2 separate regions of the Homo sapiens genome follow, and region 2 is linked to region 1. Evidence: promoter capture Hi-C in human tissues and cell types (Jung and others, 2019). All regions are on one chromosome and are shown on one strand. The core of a region is centred on a gene start or on the middle of the fragment in contact, and the rest is flanking DNA. Distances in the headings are between cores, read along the strand shown.

Region 1 (4,974 bases), core at 2,475-4,974:
TGGTAGGTGGCCAAGTCTTCATTTGCATGGGAGTATAACTTTGTAACTTCACTTCAGCCTCTGATTGATAACTTTCCACAGCCAATCAGACATTGGCGTAGGGTGTAACTTTTAACTTCAGCCTCTGATTGGCCACTTTCCACAACCAATCAGACTGATCACGGGCCACTCCTTCATTTACACAGGGCGTACACCAAATAACCAATGGGAAACCTTTAGAGGGTATTTAAACCCCAGAAACTTCTGTAAGGAGCCTGTTGAGTTTCTTTGCTTGAGCTGTTCTTGCCCTGTAGAGTGTACTTTCGTTTTCAATAAATCTCTGCTTTTGTTGCTTTATTCTTTCCTTGTTTTGTCTGTATGTTTTGTCCAAGACGCCGAGAAGCTGGGCACCCTCCACCGTTAACAGTCCGGCTGCAGCATAGTGAGTAACGCAGTGGGTTAGGACGAGCGTGAGGTCAGAGACAGGCAGGAGTCAAGAAGTGCTGGAAGCAGAGAAGTGATTTAATCTGTTTTTAAAGCTCTCTCTGGCTGCTGTGCGGAGATTGGATGATAGGAAGGACAAAAGTAGAATTAGGAAGACAAGCTAGGAGGTTATCTCCCTGGTAAGAGATGCCGTTGATCAGCCTGGGGCAGTGGCTGCGGAGATGCACAGATGTGTGGCATCAGTGAATCTTAGACCTTTTCCGCCATTGAAATTACATAGGGAGTTAAAACACGCACAGACTTCTGGACCTTACCTTTGCAGAGCCTTGTGAAAGGCAAATAAATCTTGGGGCCCCAAAATCACTAAGCTAAAGGGAAAAGTAAGTCAAGCTGGGAACTGCTTAGGGCAAACCTGCCTCCCGTTCTATTCAAAGTCACCCCTCTGCTCACTGAGATAAATGCATACCTGATTGCCTCCTTTGGAGACGCTAATCAGAAACTAAAAATACAAAAAATGCAACCATTTGTTTCTTTTTTCTTTCTTTTTTTTTTTTTTTTTTTTTGAGACGGAGTCTCACTCTGTCGCCCAGGCTGGAGTACAGCGGTGCGATCTCGGCTCACTGCAAACTCCGCGTCCCGGGTTGAAGCCATTCTCCTGCCTCAGCCTCCCGAGTAACTGGGACTACAGGCACCAGCCACCATACCCGGCTAATTTTTTTTTTTTTTTTTTTTTTGTATTTTTAGTAGAGACGGGGTTTCACCGTGTTAGCCAGGGTAGTCTCGATCTCCTGACCTCGTGATCCGCCCACCTCGGCCTCCCAAAGTGCTGGGATTACAGGCGTGAGCCACCGCGCCTGGCCTCAACCATTTGTTTCTTATCTACCTATCACCAGGAAGCCCCTTCCCAGCTTCGAGTTGTCCAGCCTTTCCAGACCGAACCAATATTCATCTCACATATGTTGATTGATGCCTCATGTCTCCCCAAAATGTATAAAACCAAACTGCGCTCCGACCACCTTGGGCACAGGTTGTCAGGACCTCCTGAGCTTGTGCCACAGGCACATCCTCAATCTTGGTGAAATAAACTTTCTAAATTAACTGAGACCTGTCTCAGATATTCGGGGTTTACAGCCTCAATGCCTAAGGAATCTATACTTTTTACAAGCCCCCTGGGATGTGCTGCTTCGTCTCCGGGTACCCACTTGTCTACTGGTCGTAAAGGGGTAAGTGTGGCCGGGCTTGGTGGCTCATGCCTGTAATCCCAGCACTTTGGGAGGCCAAGGTGGGCGGATCACTTGAGTTTAGGAGTTCGAGATCAGGTTGGGCAACACGGTGAAACCCTGTCTTCACAAGACAAATACAAAAAATTAGCCGAGCCTGGTGGCATGTGCCTGTAGTCCAAGCTATTCAAGAGGCTGAGGTGGTAGGATTACCTGAGCCCAGGAGGACGAGGCTGCAGTAAGCCATAATCGTGTCATTGTACTCCAGCCTGGGTGACAAAGACTCTGTCTCGAAAAAAATAAAAATAAAAAAAGGTGCGTGTGATGATGCAGAAAGAGGAGCACTGGGGATGGGAGAGGGGGAGTCCCTGTCGTTTTGGATTCTAGTCCCAGTTACGGGTCTGTTTGGGGGGCTCGGTGGCCCCAAGTGATCATCAGGGATAGCAATGCCTATCTCGAAGATGGGCTGAAAGTGAGGAATACATAACATAGTATTTGTAAAGCACTCAGCAAAGGACCAGCCGAAGCACTCGGGCTATTTCTGGTAAAGGGTGCAGGCTCTGGGGTAAATCGCGTGCAGTTGGAACACACATCGGCTTTGCAGCCATCTGCTAATGTGAATTCCATTCCTTTTGGGGCCTCGATTTCCTCCTCCATAAACTGGTATCCACAATGCCAACCTTGTGAACGCTGTGAGAATGCGCGGGGTAAAGGCGACGTCTCTCCCTCCCGGGAAGAACTTGGATGGTGTCAGGCCTACACTCTCGCTCCGCCTAGGGCCGCTCGCTGGGCCTGGCTCCCCGGCTGCCGGGCTACGCGAGCTCAGAGGACACCATCGCCCTCTTATGGCCGCGGCAGGACTGGACCGAGGGGCTGGGCTCTAGTGCCTTCCTCCAGGCACGGCAGAGGGCGAGGGTCTGGCAGCCCGCTTACCCAGGGCCTCGGGGCACTAGCATTCATGTCATCGACTGCCTGGCAGGGCTGGCTTTCTTAAGTGTGGTCGTGAGACTTGCTTAAGTGGAAGAAATGCTGTCGCTTTGGAGATTTATAAAACAATTGGCTCGATGGATCTTTCTTCAGGAGGCGGACTTGGTTTACCGGCTTTACTGACCACAGCTGATGCCAATGATTTCATTTAATCGTCTTTAGAGTCCCTGTGCATGGGGAGTTACCATCCCCAATTAGTTTCTTGTGAATGCAGGGCAAGGAGAGGGAGAGGGTAGTGGGGGACGGGGAGAAGGGGCGAGGGGTACCCTCCTATTAAAACGGAGCCGCAGAAAAACCCACAGAGACATCCGTCTGTTCCCCGCTGAGTCCTTAGAACAGCGCCTGGCACACAGAGAGCGCTCAACTCGCTGTGTAACTAAATGCAAGCCAAGATCTTCGCATTGTGTGTGCTCTTCCCTTCCCTACCAAATATACCTGGCTTGCAAGGTTTGACCTGTTTTCTTAGACGATTTTTAACTTGTTTCCAAAAGAAATATTGGAGTAAATTAGCTTGTTCAAAGGAGTCCTTATGAAAGGACAGAACCAAGTGAGAAGTATCTGGAGCCCGGTTTGGGGTTATAGATGATGATGTTGAGCCAGCACCCACGGGGCGGCCGCAATGTAGAATCCTGGCGCTACTGGGAACCGTGTGGAAAGGGGCTCTTCTTTCTGTTCAAATAGTGTTTTCTGTAGATCCCATCTCTCCATCCTCCTGAGCTCTCTCTTACAAAATATCGGATTTCAGCAGCTTAGAATTGGACAGAAACTCAGAGGTCCGTTTCTCAATTATCTCTAACCCTGGTAAACAATAAATGGGATGATGAGTACAAGACAGTTTTGGTAAAAAGTCACACGCCACACAACGTGAGATTTTATTATTCCACGGGTGCTTCCTTGCCAATAGTAGACATGGCAGCTCGGCTCCCTTCCCTTCGGGTTCGCCTTATTGTTGCCAATTGTAAACATGGCCTCTAGGCCGTGAGTTCTCATTGGCAGCTGCTCTGAGTCCCCGCCCTTCCCCGCCCCTCCGAACGCGGCCTGGAGTTGTGGAGTCGGATATCGCAGCTCCCGACTGAGCTGCGCCTGCGCAACTCATTGGCGCCAAGATGGCGATGGAGATGAGGCTTCCAGTGGCTCGCAAGCCTCTTAGCGAGAGACTGGGCCGCGACACTAAGAAACATCTAGTGGTGCCGGGGGATACAATCACTACGGACACAGGATTCATGCGGTACGTGGGGACTTGGGGGAGTCGAGGCTTCAGAGAGCGGCTTCAGGGCTCTCTGCACGTGGTCCAGGCCTCGTATCCCTGTGTGTGTAACTCCCCGCGGGACCCAGGGCACTTCGTCTGAGCATCCTACACACCTCGCTTCCGAGCCTCGTGCTTCTTGCTCCCTGCATCTTGTGTGTCCCCGTCTGCATTTGTCTCAGCTCCCTGAAACCCTCCACTCCTGACCTCCGGTGGCTGTGACTTTTGGGTCTTCTGCCTGAAGTCCAAATCTTTGATCCTTCCTTGTGGGAGACCTGGAAAGCTGGGGAGGGTTAGGTGCAGGCTCTTTTCCAGTTTTCAGCTCTCTGAGGGGACGGTGGGCGTTCTTGGCTGCCTCCTCTTCAGTTTAGAATCCGTAATTGTTCGATCTTAGGGCAAACAGTTACATTGTGCTGCATGCACCCATTTATACACATTTTGAATCTAAGGGGTGTAGTGCAGTGTATTGTGGTTAAGAGGGAAGGCTCTTGAGTCAGACAGTTGGGGTTCCGGTCCTGCTACCATCACATCTTATTAGCGGCATTGCCTCTCCACGGTCAGTTTCCTCATCTGTAAGATAGTGATAATAACAGTATGATACGGTAATGAGGATTAAATGAGACAATTATGTAAGAAAAGAAGTAAAACCAGCCATTATATCATCATAGATAACACTAGTGTTTCAACCTTTATTATTATTATTTTTTTACTTGTATATGTACAAGGGGCACAGCATTCATAGCATTGCCCTTTAACCTGTTAGTTTAAGGTTAGTGGATACCAGGAAATTTTTTTTTCTTTTTTGAGACGGAGTCTGTCTTAGATCAGTCGTGCGATCTCGGCTCACTGCAACCTCTGCCTCCTGGGTTCAAGTGATTCTCCTGCCTCAGCCTCCTGAGTAGCTGGGATTACAGGTGCACGCCACCATGCCTAGCTAATTTTTGGTTTTTTTTTTTTTTAGTAGAGACAGGGTTTCACTGTGTTGGCCAGGCTGGTCTCGATCCCCTGACCTCAAGTGTGATCTGCCCGCCTCGGCCTCCCAAAGTGCTGGGATTACAGGCATGAGCCACCATGCCTGGCCCCTAGGAAATCTTAAGA
Region 2 (4,974 bases), core at 1,700-4,199, 430 kb after region 1:
TTTTTTTTTTTCTTTTTGAGATCTCGCTCTGTCACCCAGGCTGGAGTGCAGTGACATGATCTCAGCTCACTGCAACCTCCGCCTCCTGAGCTCAAGTGATTCTCCTGCCTCAGCCTCCCGAGTAGCCAGGATTACAGGTGTGCGCCACCACACCCAACTAATTTTTGTATTTTTAGTAGAAATGGGGTTTCGCCATGTTGGCCAGGTTGGTCTCAAACTCCTGACTTCCAAGAGATCAGACCCCCTCGGCCTCCCAAAGTGCTAGGATTACAGGCGTGAGCCACCATGCCTGGCAGTTTCCCCATTTGTAAAGCACCTCCACTACCCCCACAGGCTTGTAAGCATAAAATAGAGTCAAAAATTGGCCCCAAAGGGAGGCAGGGTTTGCATCTTGATGCTATTACTTGCTACCAAAATGACCCTGGGCAAGTTACCTTAGGTCTGCGAGTCTCAGTTTCTTCATCTATAAAATAGGGGTGATAATCATGTCTTCCGTGATGTCCTGAGGGCTAGTGAAATGACACTTATGAAGATTTCAGCCTTGTGTGGCTGATGGCAAACACCTACTACGTGGTAGCACATTGTGGGTGCTGCCCCATTGAAGAGCGTTACAGCATTGCCCCAGGGCAGTCTCATTGTCATTTGTCACAGCTGAAAATAACACTCTGCCAGGTGCCCTGGCTCACGCCTTTAATCCCAGCGCTTCGGGAGGCTGAGGCCGGTGGATCACCTGAGGTCAGGAGTTCGAGACTAGCCTGGTCAACATGGTGAAACCCCGTTTCTACTAAAAATACAAAAATTAGCTGGGTGTTGTGGCTCACGCCTGTAATCCTGGCTACTCGGGAGGCTGAGGCAGGAGAATCACTTGAGCCCAGGAGGCGGAGGTTGCAGTGAGCAGAGATCGTGACATTGCCCTCCAGCCTGGGCGGCAAGAACAAAACTCTGTCTCAAAAGAAAAAAAAAAAAAAAAAGAAAACAGAAAATAACACTTACTTGGCTTTTATGAAATAAGATTCACTTTTTTAAAGTACGAATGTAAAATATACCTGTCTCATTTTACAAAGGAGCTTGTTGAGGCCCAAGGAGACTGAGTACCTGGCCCATGAGCCCACGGTCCAATCTGGCCAGATCTTCTAGCACCCCACTTCCAGGGAGAAACGCCAAGGATCAGAGAGGTCAAGTGTCTTGCTTGAGCCACCCGGCTGGGAAGTAGCAGGGCTGGCATTTGAATCTAGGCAGTTGCCCTAGAGGTTATACGCTGAGCCCCTACCCTCTACTCCCCAGACACCACTCTCAGAGCAGTGGGCAGGTTTTTGAAGATCTTTGCGCAGAGGCGTGGCCCAGCCTGGCTCAGCCTCCTCCAGGCAGTGTGGTTAAGGGAAGGGTATGGCCTGGAAGTCAGAAGCCTGGAGTCGTACCCAGCCTCTGCCCTGGACCGCCTGTGTGGTTCTGAGGAGTCATATCACCACTTTGCGCCTCCATTTTCTCCTCTGTAAAATGGGACTAGCAGCCCCTTCCTTGGAGCTGCTGTCTTGGGCTTCTGCAAGGATCCCACTGGAGAACAGATTTAAATTCTGTTGAGGACCCTGCTGACATGAGGCTGGGATGATCTTTCCCTGGATGAGGGAAGGATCCTAATCTTGTTTTTCTTTCTTTTTTTCTTTTCTCCATCTCCAAACCAGAGTCATGATGTTTGAAGGAAAAGCCAACGAGAGCAGCCCCAAGCCAGTTGGCCCCCCTCCAGAGAGAGACATTGCTAGCCTGCCCTGAGGACCCCGCCTGGACTCCCCAGCCTTCCCACCCCATACCTCCCTCCCGATCTTGCTGCCCTTCTTGACACACTGTGATCTCTCTCTCTCTCATTTGTTTGGTCATTGAGGGTTTGTTTGTGTTTTCATCAATGTCTTTGTAAAGCACAAATTATCTGCCTTAAAGGGGCTCTGGGTCGGGGAATCCTGAGCCTTGGGTCCCCTCCCTCTCTTCTTCCCTCCTTCCCCGCTCCCTGTGCAGAAGGGCTGACATCAAACCAAAAACTAGAGGGGGCAGGGCCAGGGCAGGGAGGCTTCCAGCCTGTGTTCCCCTCACTTGGAGGAACCAGCACTCTCCATCCTTTCAGAAAGTCTCCAAGCCAAGTTCAGGCTCACTGACCTGGCTCTGACGAGGACCCCAGGCCACTCTGAGAAGACCTTGGAGTAGGGACAAGGCTGCAGGGCCTCTTTCGGGTTTCCTTGGACAGTGCCATGGCTCCAGTGCTCTGGTGTCACCCAGGACACAGCCACTCGGGGCCCCGCTGCCCCAGCTGATCCCCACTCATTCCACACCTCTTCTCATCCTCAGTGATGTGAAGGTGGGAAGGAAAGGAGCTTGGCATTGGGAGCCCTTCAAGAAGGTACCAGAAGGAACCCTCCAGTCCTGCTCTCTGGCCACACCTGTGCAGGCAGCTGAGAGGCAGCGTGCAGCCCTACTGTCCCTTACTGGGGCAGCAGAGGGCTTCGGAGGCAGAAGTGAGGCCTGGGGTTTTGGGGGAAAGGTCAGCTCAGTGCTGTTCCACCTTTTAGGGAGGTTACTGAGGGGACCAGGATGGGAGAATGAGGAGTAAAATGCTCACGGCAAAGTCAGCAGCACTGGTAAGCCAAGACTGAGAAATACAAGGTTGCTTGTCTGACCCCAATCTGCTTGAAACCTGACTCTGCTTCTCTCATTTGTCTTCCTACCCTACTCACATAATTCACTCATTGACTCACTCATTCACCAGATATTTATTGACCTGCTATTATAAGCTTTACATCCTCCCATGTTGTCCTGGCATGTGCAGTATACACGGTCTAACTCATCTCTCCCCAGATCTCTCAGAACCTTGAGCTTGGGAATTGAACTGGGGTCACCTGTGTCCTTTCTTATGGACTCGCAGGATTTTAGAACCCTAATGCACCCTGGAGGGTAGCTGGGCCAGACTTCTCATTTCACAGGTGAGGAGACTGGTGCCCCACAGGGATTAAGTGCCTTGCCCAAGGTCAGGCTTATCTCCAGAGGGAGGTGCCCTGGACTGGGGCCCAGATGTTCAGGGACCCTGCCTACACCTCATTTCCAGTGTGGGCTGCCTTAGTTAGTTATGAGAACAGGGAAGGGCTGGGAAGAGACAGCCTCCAAGGTCAACACTTGGAGAGGGTTTCACTTGCTCTGAAGACCCTGGTCCAGGATTCGCCCTCTCCCATGCCTTCAAGTCAGCATCAGGCTTAGGGCAAAGACCAGGCCTCTGAAGCTGCCTCTTGTAATTCATGCAGGAAGATGTCAAAGTCAGCCCCATCTTGGCTGATCAGGGTGTTCAGCCTTAACCCCACCTGTGTTCTGAAGTCTCTTACCCTACCTGCTCAGGACTGAGACAGTTATTCACTGAACATATTTATTAAGCACTTGCTGTAGGCCAACAGTTAAGAATCCAATAATGAAATGGACAGATTCATGGAACTTAGAGTCCAATAGGAAAGTGAGACCCAGACAATGACAATGAGATAAATGTTAGGAAGGGGGAGGTATGGGGTGACTTCCCTGCAGTCCTGGGGGCCTAGATGGGCCCAAGACTGGGTGAGAGTCTTGGCAGAGCCTTTGCAACACCTTAAGTGGACAGGACTGGGAGGTCTTGGTGGTTGGAGCCAACGTGGGTTCCCTGCGGCTCCTTAGTCACCTCTGATAGCAGATTGAGGGAGGAAAACAGGTAAGGCATGAGGAAATGGCCAGGTTGGGTTAACCCACTGGTTTCAACCAGTTCAGGAATGAGGTTATTTGGCCATGACTGGCTGATCTTGAGCTCAAGGATCTGCTTCAAATGCACACAGGCCTAGTTGAAGTTTAAACCCCAGCAAAACATTCCTCCCTGTAAATGGAAAATCCTACTTCTACCCCCACCCTGCCCTGTTTTTTGTTTTTTTTTTCCCCAAGATCATTAGATGTCCTCACCCCTCCTCACTGCCTCTCCTCTCTGGGACAGGCTGGGACCTTTGAGGAAGATAAAGCCTTCCTTCACTACCCATCATATTCAGTGTCCCTGTTCCTCACTCAGAGAGGAAGGCAGAACCAGTCAGGCTTATTTCAGTAAGTTCCACAGTTCTACAAGACTGCAGGAATTCTCCTTAAGGGAGGAGAGCAAGCAGGTGTGGCCCCAGCTTCTGGAAATGGCAGAAGAGAGGGTTTTCTCATTGAATGGGGGTGGGGGCTCGTGTGTCCTGGGAAACCCCATCAGTCCCTTCATTTCTTGAGACTCAACTCCTGGGAGGAGAGGGTCTCAAGAGTTGTCCCTGGAAGGAGGGCGGGGGCAGTCTGCATCTATTTCAGGTTGTGGCTCTTGGTTCTAGGACTCTTACTTCTCTGGCTAAGGGCTCAGCTTCTTGGGACTTCAACCATCTTCTTTCTGAAAGACCAAATCTAATGTAACCAGTAACGTGAGGACTGCCAAGTATGGCTTTGTCCCTATGACTCAGAGGAGGGTTTGTCGGGCAAATTCAGGTGGATGAAGTATGTGTGTGCGTGTGCATGGGAGTGTGCGTGGACTGGGATATCATCTCTACAGCCTGCAAATAAACCAGACAAACTTACCAACGTCTTGATTGGTGTATTTTGGGGCTGGTTCTGGGCTCAGCAAATTGCGAACTAGCTAATATAGTAAGAGATTAAATGAGCATGTCCTGTGCCTTTTGTCTGAGACAGCTGAAATTCACTTATCCTAACCACCTCCCTGCAAGAGACAGGTTCTATTATGTCATCCTTGTTTCACAACTGAAAAGTAGGCTTGAATAAGCAATGTGCTGCAAGCCAAACAGTAAATGGCACAATCCGACCCCCCTGGAGCCAACCCATGAGGTCCAAGTTAAGAACCTCTGTCGGCCGGGCGCGGTGGCTCACGCCTGTAATCCCAGCACTTTGGGAGGCTGAGGTGGGCGGATCACGAGGTCAGGAGATGGAGACCATCCTGGCTAA

What was found. The method cuts DNA at HindIII sites, captures the fragments that hold promoters and counts their contacts. A contact is called where the count stands out against the background at its distance.
Region 2: a fragment that was not itself captured here is called in contact with the fragment with the promoter of EXOSC2 in region 1 in 1 of the 25 tissues and cell types used here (hippocampus).

The regions. Positions count from the first base shown.
Region 1 is chr9:130,690,056-130,695,029 of GRCh38, forward strand. EXOSC2 (exosome component 2) reads left to right here and starts at 3,725. Exons shown (of 9, transcript NM_014285.7): 1 at 3,725-3,858. The coding sequence starts at 3,737. RefSeq lists an enhancer at 3,788-3,977. The HindIII fragment of the contact is 7,301 bases long and covers 1-4,974 here.
Region 2 is chr9:131,118,553-131,123,526 of GRCh38, forward strand. AIF1L (allograft inflammatory factor 1 like) reads left to right here. Exons shown (of 6, transcript NM_031426.4): 6 at 1,683-4,592. The coding sequence ends at 1,770. Among named protein-coding and RNA genes, the nearest start is that of NUP214, 4.5 kb to the right of the region's middle. The HindIII fragment of the contact is 3,884 bases long and covers 1,008-4,891 here.